Linked DNA regions of Homo sapiens: regions 1, 2 and 4 are each linked to region 3. The links are contacts of gene promoters, found by promoter capture Hi-C in human tissues and cell types (Jung and others, 2019). All regions are on one chromosome and are shown on one strand. Each heading gives the region's core, a stretch centred on a gene start or on the middle of the fragment in contact. The rest is flanking DNA. Distances are from core to core; before and after follow the strand shown. Region 1 holds the start of ZCCHC8 (zinc finger CCHC-type containing 8). Region 2 overlaps MPHOSPH9 (M-phase phosphoprotein 9). Region 3 holds the start of VPS37B (VPS37B subunit of ESCRT-I). Region 4 overlaps RSRC2 (arginine and serine rich coiled-coil 2).

Region 1 (3,087 bases), core at 454-2,953, 400 kb before region 3:
TGGAATAAATCTATGGATGTCCACTGTAGAATCCTTTCAACTTTTTTTTTTTTTTTTTGAGACACAGTCTCACCCTGTCGCCCAGGCTGGAGTGCAATGGTGTGATCTTGGCTCACTGCAACCTCCGCCTCCCAGGTTCAAGGGATTCTCCTGCCTCAGCCTCCTGAGTAGCTGGGATTACAAGCACGCGCCACCACGCCCGGCTAATTTTGTATTTTTAGTAGAGACGGGGTTTCACCATGTTGGCCAGGCTGACCTCCTGATCCTCATGATCCACCTGATCCTCATGATCCTCCTGACCTCATGATCCACCCGCCTCGGCCTCCCAAAGTGCTGGGATTACAGGCTTGAGCCACAGCGCCCGGCCTCAACTTTTTGTATTCTGAAAATTTTCCTCACAATGTGGAGGAAGACGACATTCTGAAAAAATAAATCGCGCTTCACAAACCTTAAAAACTGATATACTGACTGGGCGCCGTGGCGGGCGCCTGTAATCCCAGCTATTCGGGAGGCTGAGGCAGGAGAATCGCTTGAACCCGGGAGGCGGAGGTTGCAGTGAGCCGAGATCGCGCCACTGCACTCCAGCCTGGGCAACAGACTGAGACTCCATTCCCCGACCCCGTCCCCCTAAAAAAGCTAACATATCAGCCACTTTCAGTTCTCTACAAATTTTAAAAGGAAAACTACCCGAACCAAAGTTATCTATCTACCTATAAAACTCTACGAACGTAAAAAAAAACATACTAGCAAATCAAGAAAAATCTGCAATCTTGTAACTCAAGTCTAACAGAAACTTCTTTGGCGCGTTTTCCTCAAGGCGTTGCAAAGCATCTTCAGCACAGAAGCGAGCTCCGAGTGGAAGAACTCTAAAATTAATCCCCAATTTTAATCAAGCAATTAACCAATTATCTCAGCACACCCGGATTCCTTGAGGCCCCCAACTCTGCATTCTGGGACCACTAGCGTTTGCCCCGGTATAAAAACCGATCCCGCGTCTAAGCAGCCGGTATTTCATCACCTACAACTGTAACATGACGGCACAATTTGAGCGTGGCTGCGAAATATGAAACCTCACCACGACCTCAAACAGAGGGGGGCAATTAAGGGCTTGTGTACAATCTGTCAGGTGAGCAGCCTAAAATAACCCTAAACACGGCACCCGGGTGGGAGGCAGGAGTGGGTCTGGTCAGGAGACGGCCTCCCTGAGGGGAAGAGGTCTGCGCCGAGGCAGCCTGCGCGCCCCGAACCCTAGACTCTCGGTCCGCCGGCGGGTGACAGAAAGCACTTGGAATTCTGGCCCTCCTGGAACTTCCGCCCGCGCCCTCGCCCTCGCCCGGCGCTGCCCCGGCCCCACGCCTGGCGCTGCCCCGGCCCCACACCCGGGTGACAGGGCCCAGCGAGAGGAAAGGATATTCTCGGCGCGGAGCTGCTCGATGGTCTCCTCGCACTGCCGAAGCCGCTCCCGTAGCTCCGCGTCGCCGACCCCATTTTCGTCCTCCTCGTCGCCGTCGTCGTCCTTGAAGCGAGTGTGAACGGGCTTCGGAATCGACTCCTCTGGGTGGTCGAACGGCTCGAAGAGCTCTAGATCGCCAAAATACACCTCTGCGGCCATTTTGGGCTGTGGAAAAGATTCGAGAAGAGGCGGAGCCGGCCACCAGGGCTTGGGGAAGAAGGTTGGAAGGCGGCACCACTCTCTAGAGCTCTGGCCGCACGGAGCCACCCGCTAGGGTTTTCTCCAGACGCAGGCCGCGAAAGCTGCACACGGGGCGGGGCCAGTCGCTAGAGACTACAACTCCCGGAATGCAGCGGGGCCTATCGGGCTTGCGATTGCCCGGAGGACGGCATGCTGGGACGTGTGGTTTCTAAGCGACTGGTACTCATTGTCTGCATTGCATCCTGGGATTGGTGCTTTTTGAAATGTGAAGAAAGCTGGAGTAGGTCAGAATGCGCTAAAGCAATCTGGGGGCAGGGCGGGGTGGCTCACACCTGTAATACCAACTACTCGGGAGGCAGAGGTGGGAGGATCACGTGAGCCCAGGAGTTGGAGACCACCCTGGGCAACAGAGCGAGACCCAGACACTACAAAAAAATATAAAAATTAGCTGGGCGATTGTAGTCCCAAGTACTCGGCAAGCTGAGGCGGGAGGGTTTGAGCCCAAGAGGTCGAGGCTGCATTGAGCCCAGATGGCGCCACTGCACACCAGCCTGGGAGACAAAGCAAGACCCTGTCTCAAAAAGAAAAAGAAAAACAAAAACCAGTATGGGATGTTCCTGTTAGGCAACTAAGGGTGAAAAATCAGAGCACGACGCATAGCTTCTCACAGATTCTGGTGTGCGTGCCACACCAGAGAATAAGGAACTCCATAGCCTGAAAGGGAACTGAATAAAAATAAACATAAAAGAGAATAAGAAACTCCAGCTTTGCTACAGAGATGACTGTTGTAGATTAGTTTATTGAGCTTGCTTCGTTTTTAATGTAAGATTAGCTAGACTCAACTATTTGTCTGTTGAGGCTTTCTGTCATTCAATCACATTATTTACTTACACCTTCGATGGGCCAGGCACTTGTCTAGGACCTGAGTATGGTTACAAGAGTAACCACAATAGAGTAATTCCTCCTCTCACGAAGGCTGTAGTCCACAAAAAGCAACAAAAACCCCATAATTATAAATGTTCCTGTTCTTGGGTCGAGATGGTTGTTGATGGATATTGATCACACAAAGAAATGTGGGCCGGGGGCGGTGGCTCACATCTGCAACCCCAGCACTTTGGGAGGCCGAGGCAGGTGGATCACGAGGTCAGAAATTCAAGACGAGCATGACCAACATGGAGAAACCCTGTCTCTACTAAAAATACAAAAATTAGCCAGGCGTAGTGGCACACGCCTGTAATCCCAGCTACTCAGGAGGTTGAGGAAGGAGAATCGCTTGAACCCGGGAGGCAGAGGTTGCAGTGAGCCGAAATCGTGCCACTGCACTCCAGCTTGGGCGACAGAGCAAGACTCTGTCTCAAAAAAAAAAAAAAAAAAAAAAAGGTGAAAAACACAGGAAGTTATGAATATTTAACAAACACCCTAGTCTGTGGGAG
Region 2 (3,260 bases), core at 361-2,860, 270 kb after region 3:
GAGACTGAAGAACCAATTATAAAACGTTAATTTTAATAATGAAAGTTTTCAGTATCAAAATGGAGTCACTAATGTCAAACTCCCAAAAAATGGAGCTGGGAGGCACAAAGGAGCAGCCTCTCACACAGATGCTGATTATGGGAACTATTCTGAATTCCTCAGAACGACAGTATTCCAGATAATAAGCTGCTTGTACAAGGAAACATCCCTAACAAGGGATGTCTCCACCACTGAGCTAATGCTAATGCCTGCAACATGCTCCTGTAACCAGTGGTCTTTGTTTTAAAATAGCTTAGTGGACTGTGGACTGCCCTTTGTCTTTTAAAGTTTCCTGTGTCCCAACCCCTTTGGACATGCTTATGGTTCACCACAGCATGCGTACTCCAGCTTGCAAACCCCCAACATTTCCAAATAAATTTCTTTGGAGAGTCAGTCTCTGTCACTGATTTTAGGTTGACATGATTGATTTAAATAGTAATAGTGGCTGTTGGCAGGACTGTACTGAACAGCGCAATTCTAGACATTGCTCCCCCAGCTCATCTGAGGTTCCCACCATCATGTTAACCCCCAGTCATTCCCCAGACTTTAGAGCCTGCCTTGTTTTCTCCACACCTATGCCTGTTCTCACACTAGGCAACTTCCTGACCACTCTCTCCAGTGAGGTGACCCTCTACTCCTCAGCCAGCCACCTCAGAGGGTACTTGCTGGCTTTTGTCAAAACCAGAGAACACACTCCCCTTAAGAAACCAATACTCCAAAGACTGTGCCCCTATTCTGCCTCCCGCCCTCAAGCTTCAGCAACGTGACCTACGATCCTTGGCCTCTCCATTTTCCATTTATCAACCCCTCCTAGTCTGACTAGGTCCTCTTGATCTACCCTGAAGTCCACACTCACGATACTTTCTCTCTCACCTTTCACCACACCTGACTGGCAGCAAAATCTGAGGACTGGCTGACTACAAAGGCCGCGCTTCAGGTCTCAACTCCTACCACTGAGCTTTGCTGGAAAAAAGCCACCAGCTGGGCAGACTCATCACCACCTCAAGCGGACACCCCAAACCGCCTGACCGCCTGGCAACATGACTTTCTTTTTTTTTTTTTTTTTTGAGACGGAGTCTCGCTCTGTCACCCAGGCTGGAGTACGGTGGCGTGATCTCGGCTCACTGCAAGCTCCGCCTCCCAGGTTCAAGCGATTCTCCTGCCTCAGCCTCCCAAGTAGCTGGGACTACAGGCGCCTGCCACCACGCCCGGCTAATTTTTTTGTATTTTTAGTAGAGACGGGGTTTCACCGTGTTAGCCAGGATGGTCTCGATCTCCTGACCTCATGATCCGCCCACCTCAGCCTCCCAAAGTGCTGGGATTACAGGTGTGCGCCAACGCACCCGGCCGGCAACATGACTTTCTGTAACCAGCAAGCTTCAGTTCTCCAAACATGACTATCTCACACCCTTTCCACCCTCCTCAAACCTCCCATCCCACCTTCGTTGACAGGTGAAACTTTTGAGTCAAATTCAAAGAAACACCAGAAACCATGAAACAACTCTTGTTTTCTCTCTGTCCCCTTTCACAACCAAACATTTTAGAGGCTGCCTCTTCTATCTACATTCACTTCAACTCCAGTCACTCTTTCCCTCAGTTTTTTTTTTTTTGAGACAGAGTCTCACTCTGTCGCCCAGGCTGGAGTGCAGTGGCGCGATCTCGGCTCACGGCAAGCTCTGCCTCTTGGGTTCACACCATTCTACTGCTTCAGACTCCCGAGTAGCTGGGACTACAGGCGCCCACCACCACGCCCGGCTAATTTTTTGTGTTTTTAGTAGGGATGGGGTTTCACCATGTTATTAGCCAGGATGGTCTTGATCTGCTGACCTCGTGATCCACCCACCTTGGCCTCCCAAAGTGCTGGGATTACAGGCGTGAGCCACTGCGCCCGGCCCAGTTTTTAAATTAAGAACTATTTCAGGGCCAGGCTCAGTGGCTCATGCCTATAATCCTAGCACTTTGAGAGGCCAAGGCGGGCAGATAACGAGGTCAGGAGCTCGAGACCACCCTGGCTAACATGGTGAAACCCCGTCTCTACTAAAAATGCAAAATAAAAATTAGCCAGGTGTGGTGACGGGCACCTGTAGTCCCAGCTACTCAGGAGGCTTAGGCAGGAGAATGGCATAAGCCCAGGAGGCGGAGTTTGCAGTGAGCCGAGATTGCACCACTGCACTTCAGCCTGGGCAACAGAGCGAGACTCCGTCTTAAAAAAAAAAAAAAATCTTCAAACATTCTTGGAAAATTACAAAGAATACTATAACAAGCATCTACTCACCCATTCTCAGTTTTAATAAATGCTAAGATCTTGCCAATTTTTTTTTTTCTTGAGATGGAGTTTTCCTCTGTCACCCAGGCTGGAGTGCAGTGGCGTGATCTCAGCTCACTGCAACCTCTGCCTACCAGGTTCAAGCAATTCTCCTGCCTCAGCCTCCACAGTTGCTGGGATTACAGGGGCCCACCACTGTGCCCAGCTAATTTTTGTATTTTTAGAAGTGACGGGGTTTCACCATGTTGGCCAAACTCCTAACCTTAAGTGATCTGCCCACCTTGGCCTCCCAAAGTGCTGGGATTACAGGTGTGAGCCACGTGCCCAGCCCGATCTTGCAAAATTTGTTTTTAATTATAAGACCAATTTTTATATATTTAATTACACAGAAGGCATAATGTATTAATACACATTTTTAAATGTCTTTTTTTTTTTTTGAGACAGGGTTTTACCCTGTCCCCCAGGCTAAAGTGCAGTGGCATGATCATGGCTCAGTACAGCCTCGACCCCTCAGGCTCAAGTGATTCTCCCACCTCAGCCTCCCGAGCAGCTGGGACTACAGGCGCGTACCACCAACCACCACACCCAGCTTTTTTTTTTTTAAGACAGAGTCTCGCTCTGTCACCCAGGCTGGAGTACAGTGGCTCGATGTCGGCTCACTGCAACCTCCGCCTCTCAGGTTCAAACCATTCTCCTGCCTCAGCCCTGTGAGTAGCTGGGATGACAGCTGCGTGCCACCACATCTGGCTAATTTTTTTGTATTTTTAGTAGAGACGGGGTTTCACCATGTTGGTAAGGCTGGTCTCAAACTCTTGACCTCATGATCCACCTGCCTCAGCCTACCAAAGTGCTGGGATTATAGGCGTGAGCCACTGTGTCTAGCCGCTAACTTTTTATATTTTTTGTAGAGACAGGGTTTTGCCATGTTGCCCAGGCTGGTCTCAAACTCCTGGGC
Region 3 (3,359 bases), core at 559-3,058:
AACGTTATTATGTGTCAAGTTACAAAGCCCATGAATACAAGGGGTGTATTAATGGAAAGACTGATACCATCTTACTACAGTGGCCTCTCTGTAGCTCCGGACAATGATCTGTTGAGGGTTTTCCAGGGATTTTGAATGTGCAACCTCCATACAAGCTCTCTTTTAAGGGGGCTGGCTTGGTGCTGAACAATCCCTCTTCGGAAAGAAAGCCAAAAGCCCCCACACGGGCTCCTGGGTGAGAGGCTCAGCACTGTAGGCGTGGGAAGGCTCAGACTTCAGAGACATAAAGGAGTGGTAGGTGGGCCAGGAAGAGCTGGGATTAGCCTGGGCCCACCTGCCTGGAGGAGAACCAGACCCAAAAGATCAGACTTTCCGAGAATGAGTCCAAATGGGTTGAGAGAAAGGGAGCACACACTGCAAATCTGCAAGGATGAAGTCAGTTACCCGAGAGCAAACCACACCTCAAGGTGTGAAGGAAGATAACCAGAAACAGGAGCTGGCACATGCCTTCCAGGGGCTGGGCAAGGCTTGACTCTCAGAGGTGAGGGTTGGCAGCCAGCCCCAAACCCCCATTTTAACTTCTTCCTGAAACTGCTCCAGGAACCTTCCTTAGTCCCAGACACGTGGGACGCAGTGGTACAAAGCCAGCCACACTAAATTTCCCACCTTCCCTTCCTCGGTGGAGGGGGCAACCCTTACAGAAAAACGTATCCTGTCGCCACCCTTAGGCCCATCCACGAACTCCCGTAACTCTGCTGGGGCCACTTCAAAAGAAGTCAGACTCCAGGGGCATTATTGGGACCCCTTAGATACATGGAACCTTCAAACCTTACCCTGGCTATGGTATGACCATGGACTCCTGCCTCCAAACCCTGGGCTGGGGACCCTCGCCCAACCCTTAAAGAGCCTCAGAACCACCTCATAGACTCAGCTACAGACCCTCAGCCTCCCGAACCCATCTTGGAACCCTCAATCCTCTCCTAAGAGTCCTATTTGGATAGTCCACTCAGTCCCCCAAAACCTACTCTGATCCCCTATAGCTGCCTCAGTCCCCCTGGTTGTCCCCAACCTTTCCTCTCAAAGGAAACCCCCCAACCTCTACCAGATCTAGCTCTTGGTCCCCCTCAGTCACCCCTAATCCTCGCCTCCGACTCAGCCCTTATTACTCTCCCCGCTCCTCCGACCAAACCAATCTCAGATCCCCCCAGTTCCGTCCTCTTCCGCCTAGACCCAACGATAGCACTCTAATCCCCAAATTCCCATTCCAGGCTCCCTAATCTCCACTTCAGACCCAGCCTTAAGTCTTCAGACCCAGCCTTAAGTCCTCAGCCCCACAAAACCTTGTCTCAGGACCCCCAATCGGCTCCCCAAGCCCCGTCTCAGGACCCTTTTTCCCGCCTCCGCCCTAGTCTCGGTCCCCTCAGTGCCTCAAACCCCCTCTCAGGCCCCCTATTCCTGCCTAAGCACCAGTCGCGGTTCCCTGGCTCCCGCACCCCGCCCCAAGCGCCCCCATTTCTAGCCCAGTCCCCTCAACACGACCGGAGGCGCCGCGGTCGCCTCCGCCTCCGGCCACCGTTCGAGGAGCGAACCCCGCTCGAGGCCTCACAGCCGCCGCCTTAAGCCCAGCTCGGCTCACCTCCTCCATCTTCTGCACCATCTCCGTCAGCTGGCCCTCGTCCTCCAGCAGCTCGTTGAGCTGCACCAGCGACAGCCCGGCGAACCGGGCTTCGCTCCCGGCGCCCGCCATCCCCACGTCTCGGCCGTCGTCGCCACCGCCGCTGCGGCCACCAGGCTCCGCCGACCGGAAGCGCCGCCCTCAAGGGCCGCCCCCCGCGGGGGGGACACGTGACGCCAGCCCTGGGTCGTGACGTCATCACCGCGCGGGCGGGCGGACGTGACGTAAGTGTCGCGGCTCGCTTGGAGTGGAATGTGTCAGGGACAGTCGGGACTTCTAAAGGGAGGGGAAGGGCCCTATGATTGGGCTGTGACGCGTGAGCGCATTAATGACGTCACTGCGGCTCGGGAGAGCGCGCCATGAGGTCATAAGAGCCTTTTTCCTCCAGGAAGAGAGATACCGCGATCCAAGGAAAACAGGCAGTGGGAAGGAAGTTCCCGCAGCCTGTGAGCCCAGCCCGATGCACGGAACCCAAAAGACAGAGACTTCATGGGGAAACAACTTTAGGTGTCATTGGTTACTTGGAATTGTGGAGCTGCCACGTCATTCATTTAACAAATATGTTTTGAGACCTACTCTGTACTGGGCATTGAGTATACAGTTCTGAATAAAGCAAAACGGACCCCTGCTTACATGGAGCTAACAGAATGAAAGAGGACGCAAACAAAACAAGAAATAAGTAAAATAATTAGGCGATCACAAATAAGGGAATGGACACTGAAATAAGAAAATAAAAAGACCTTTAGGGTAGTAAGAGATGGCACTTTCGGAGAAGGTGGCGTCTAAGGAAATGTGAAGGATGAGAAGGGAGGAACCAGCCACCATTCCTGTAGGAAGCTCAAGGCAGCAAAACCAGCACGTGCAAAGGCCCTGGGACAGGACTAACTTGGTGCATTCAGGAATGGGAAGAAGGCCAGTAAGGCTGGAGCATTTTGAGCAAGGACCCATTGAGTGGCCCCTTTGCATCACCTCAGAGGAAGGTGCCCAGACATCCAGGTGGGCCAACCTGTGCTCTTTCAGAAACAACACGATTTAGGGTGCAGTCGCTCTCAGTCTCTCAGCTACCGGGAAGCCTCTTAAGATCCAGGAGCCTGGGAACTCATTATCCTACTTTGGAATCTGTCACAGTTCTAGTTAGAAGAAACCTAAGGCTGAGGTTAACCATGACAGCCCCCTAATTTTACACATAAGGGAACTGAAGCCCTGAGAAGGGGAAATTTTTTGGGCTTTTGCTTTGTTTCTGAAAATCAAGTAATTGGCAGGTCTCCTGGCTCCCAGTCTGGCGTCCACCACGCTGGCATCATAACACACTGACCTCGTCTCATAACTCAGCTCTGAACACAGTCGAGGCATTCAGCAAATGCTTATCGGCAGACTTAGGGGCTTTGTGTATAAAGCTGATTCTTCTGCAACTCCATGGGTAAAACATAAGGTCTGTGTTCTCCATCCATACGTTAGGCTGGGCTCTGCCAACCTCTTCTCTCCTTCCAGCCCGTTGTACTAAGGGCTCGTGTTTGCAGAAAAATGATGAAAGTTAGAGGAACTATTGCTTTTTTTATTTTTTGAGACAGAGTCTTGCTCTGTCGTCCAGGCTGGAGTGCAGTGGTGCGATCTCAGCTCACCTCAATCTCCGCCTCCTGGGTTCAAGCGATTCTCCTGCCTCAGCCTTCCAAGTAGCTGGGAC
Region 4 (2,895 bases), core at 334-2,833, 370 kb before region 3:
TCACCATAAACAAAGTTGGAGAAACATTTCATCTTAAAAAACTCTTAATGCTGGAGAAAAATGACTCCCATTAGTCTTCTTCCAATGACTAATTTTTTCATGGCACGGGTGGGATTATTCTACATTAATACAACACACATGTGAAACAAATCAAGCAATCTGAGCAAACCAGGACATAAAGCAGCCTAGATACATCTTTTAAACGGTCATAGACTTTCAGTATTTTACATATATTCTGACCAGCCCATCTAGTTTCCTAGTCTACAGCAAATTCATAAGGGGGTTTAATAGAGAGAGGTAAGCCATTAAGAAAAATAAAAACTAAAGAAAATAAACAGGTTGAATTATATTTGATATGTTCCAACATGGTGAAACCCAGTCTCTACTAAAAATACAAAAATAAGCTAGGCGTGGTGGCGCACGCCTATAATCCCAGCTACTCAGGAGGCTGAGGCAGAAGAACTGCCTGAACCCAGCAGATGGAGGTTGCATTGGGCTGAGAGTGTGTCAATTTTTGTATTTTTGGTCCTGGCTCAGGTGATCTGCCTGCCTTGGCCTCCCAAAGTGCTGGCATTACAGGCTTGAGCCACCATGCCCAGCCAACAAACTAAATGTATGTGTCTTCTTATACAACAGGTCTACATATCTTATACAAATGCTGAGAGTTGTAACCACCTTTAAGAATTCATACCTGACTTTCGTTTTCTTTCTCTTGACCTTGATCGTGATCTTGAATAATGATGTTTTGAAGCTCTAGGAGAAACAGATACTTCTGACTGCTCTTTTTTCTTATCTCTATCTGGTGATGTCTTTTCTGGGGCTAGTCCATCTCGCTCTGTATCACTAGCCTAAAAGTTTAAAAACAAATGATTAAAGTTCTTAATTACATTTTAAATGTTTTCAATTTCTTAAAAGAGGGACAAAGGGAGGGAAGATAGCCCCCCACAATCAATAAATCAGAATGCCTGCTTTCCAAGTAACTAAATGTGCTTTGTACACTAATAAGGCTGAATGGCTTGAAATGACGAACCTGATACTAAAGCAAGACCTACATATTTAGACTGATGTATCTTTAATTTTCTAACGATGATTTGTATAACTTTTAAAACATGGGGTGGGGTGGGGGAGGAATAAGGGCTCCAAGTAGTTCTAATAAGCATTCAAGCAGAGAAAATAGTCCTTTTTAGATGTGTGAATGCATTTAGCTGACTTTACCAATACTTTTAAATTAGCATACATGTCAAACATCAAAAATGAGTTGTTAAAGCTTAAAGATACTCAAGACGATAAAATCTTAAAACAATGCCCTAAGAATATTATAAAATAATAAACAGAAAATTAACTTACCTAAGTGAGAACCTCATCTTAATGTCATTAACCCTCTTTAATGAAAACAGCCCCTTGGCACAGTGCTGCTGCAAAATATGGTCTGCCTCTCCTCACATGTGCTCTGGGCTATGAAAACATTAAGTTGTTTCTGCTTTAAAGCATTTTATAAGTAATTATTACAATATAAATTTTACAAGTTTCAACTAATGCAGAAGGTAGACAATGCTCGGCTATCTGACCAGAGAAGATAACATGAAAATAAAATAATTGATACACCTGGGGAATTGATTACTTAGGAAGGGTTGGCAAGCTATGGTCCTCATTCTGTTTCTGTATGGCCTTGAGCTAGGAATGGTTTTTTACGTTTTTTAAAACTATTTTAGGCATATTTAATAAATAACTTCAGTAAATAGCACTGTAAAGACTGAACTGTTAAAACTAAAGGCACTTAAAACGCCAGTGTTGTGGCTCATGCCTGTAATCCTAGCACTTTGGGAGGTTGAGGCAGGCGGATAACCTGAGGTCAGGAGTTTGAGACCAGCCTAGCCAACATGGTAAAACCCTGCTTCTACTAAAAACACAAAAATTAGCCAAGAGTGGTGGGGCGTGCCTGTAATCCCAGCAACTCAGGAGGTTGAGACAGGAGAATGGCTTGAACCCATGAGGCAGACGTTGAAGTGAGCTAAGATTGCGCCACTGCCCCTCCAGCCTGGGAAAGAATGTGACAGAGACTGCACATGGCCCACAAAGCCAAAAATATTTACCGTCTGGCCCTTTACAGAAACAGTTTATGGACTTTTCACGTATAACATCAAACGGAATCTGGATTGAATAAATAGGGAATCGATAGTCTTCAGCAGGAGGAATCACATTAGAGAACTTCCTCCTTTAGGAAAGTTAGTCCAGAAAATGAATACCAAATATCAAGTACAATAAATGGGGGTATTGTATTTTAACAAATTTTAAACAAGTATCAAGTACAATAAATGGGTGTATTGTACTTTAATAAATGAAGTTGTGAGAGGTCGAGTTACTTCAACAAGTATTTACTAAGGGTCAAAAATGTGCCAAAACCAATGCTAGACTTAGGGAATAAAATGATAAATTAAAAACAGAAAGGTTTTGCAGTTCAATTATGAGATGAAAGACATAAATTACGTGTTATTCCTCTAACAATGGCACAAAAAGAACAGTAAGAAATTAACTACCAGGGAGGCTCTCATGCCAGCATATTGTATATGTACTTATTTCTCCAGTCTGGGTGACTTCTGGAACCATAAAATTTTTATGCTGAAAGGTTTTCACCCCTTAGAATAGAGTTCAACTTTCTCGTTTCACAGATGAGATCCAGCAACATTAGCTGACTTGCTTAAAATGATACTGCATCTCCGTATCTTTACTGTTTACTACTAATAAATAATGCTGTATCATTAAGGATGATTCTGATTTTTCACAATGAATTCTGGACACTTTTTTTTTTCATCGTTATCCTTGAGGACTATTTCAGACTCATTTATTACTTGCTGAGTGTTTGTACAGCTTACACTTGGTAAACAGAAGTGATCT

What was found. Contacts are between HindIII fragments. The study calls those that stand out against the background at their distance.
Region 1: a contact is called between the fragment with the promoter of ZCCHC8 here and the fragment with the promoter of VPS37B in region 3, in 1 of the 25 tissues and cell types used here (aorta).
Region 2: a contact is called between a fragment that was not itself captured here and the fragment with the promoter of VPS37B in region 3, in 1 of the 25 tissues and cell types used here (pancreas).
Region 4: a contact is called between a fragment that was not itself captured here and the fragment with the promoter of VPS37B in region 3, in 1 of the 25 tissues and cell types used here (aorta).

The regions. Positions count from the first base shown.
Region 1 is chr12:122,499,229-122,502,315 of GRCh38, forward strand. It overlaps ZCCHC8 (zinc finger CCHC-type containing 8), which reads right to left and starts at 1,704. Exons shown (of 14, transcript NM_017612.5): 1 at 1,414-1,704. The coding sequence starts at 1,612. RefSeq lists enhancers at 672-1,363, 1,364-2,057, 1,553-1,632, 1,833-1,892, 1,943-2,122 and 1 more and a silencer at 1,263-1,412. The HindIII fragment of the contact is 12,081 bases long and covers 1-3,087 here.
Region 2 is chr12:123,167,254-123,170,513 of GRCh38, forward strand. The region is part of intron 16 of MPHOSPH9 (M-phase phosphoprotein 9); the gene reads right to left. Among named protein-coding and RNA genes, the nearest start is that of PITPNM2, 18 kb to the left of the region's middle. The HindIII fragment of the contact is 3,215 bases long and covers 4-3,218 here.
Region 3 is chr12:122,894,316-122,897,674 of GRCh38, forward strand. It overlaps VPS37B (VPS37B subunit of ESCRT-I), which reads right to left and starts at 1,809. Exons shown (of 4, transcript NM_024667.3): 1 at 1,637-1,809. The coding sequence starts at 1,747. RefSeq lists an enhancer at 1,473-1,622 and a silencer at 1,803-1,952. The HindIII fragment of the contact is 16,898 bases long and covers 1-3,359 here.
Region 4 is chr12:122,521,452-122,524,346 of GRCh38, forward strand. It overlaps RSRC2 (arginine and serine rich coiled-coil 2), which reads right to left. Exons shown (of 10, transcript NM_023012.6): 2 at 692-848. Among named protein-coding and RNA genes, the nearest start is that of RSRC2, 4.0 kb to the right of the region's middle. The HindIII fragment of the contact is 5,664 bases long and covers 1-2,895 here.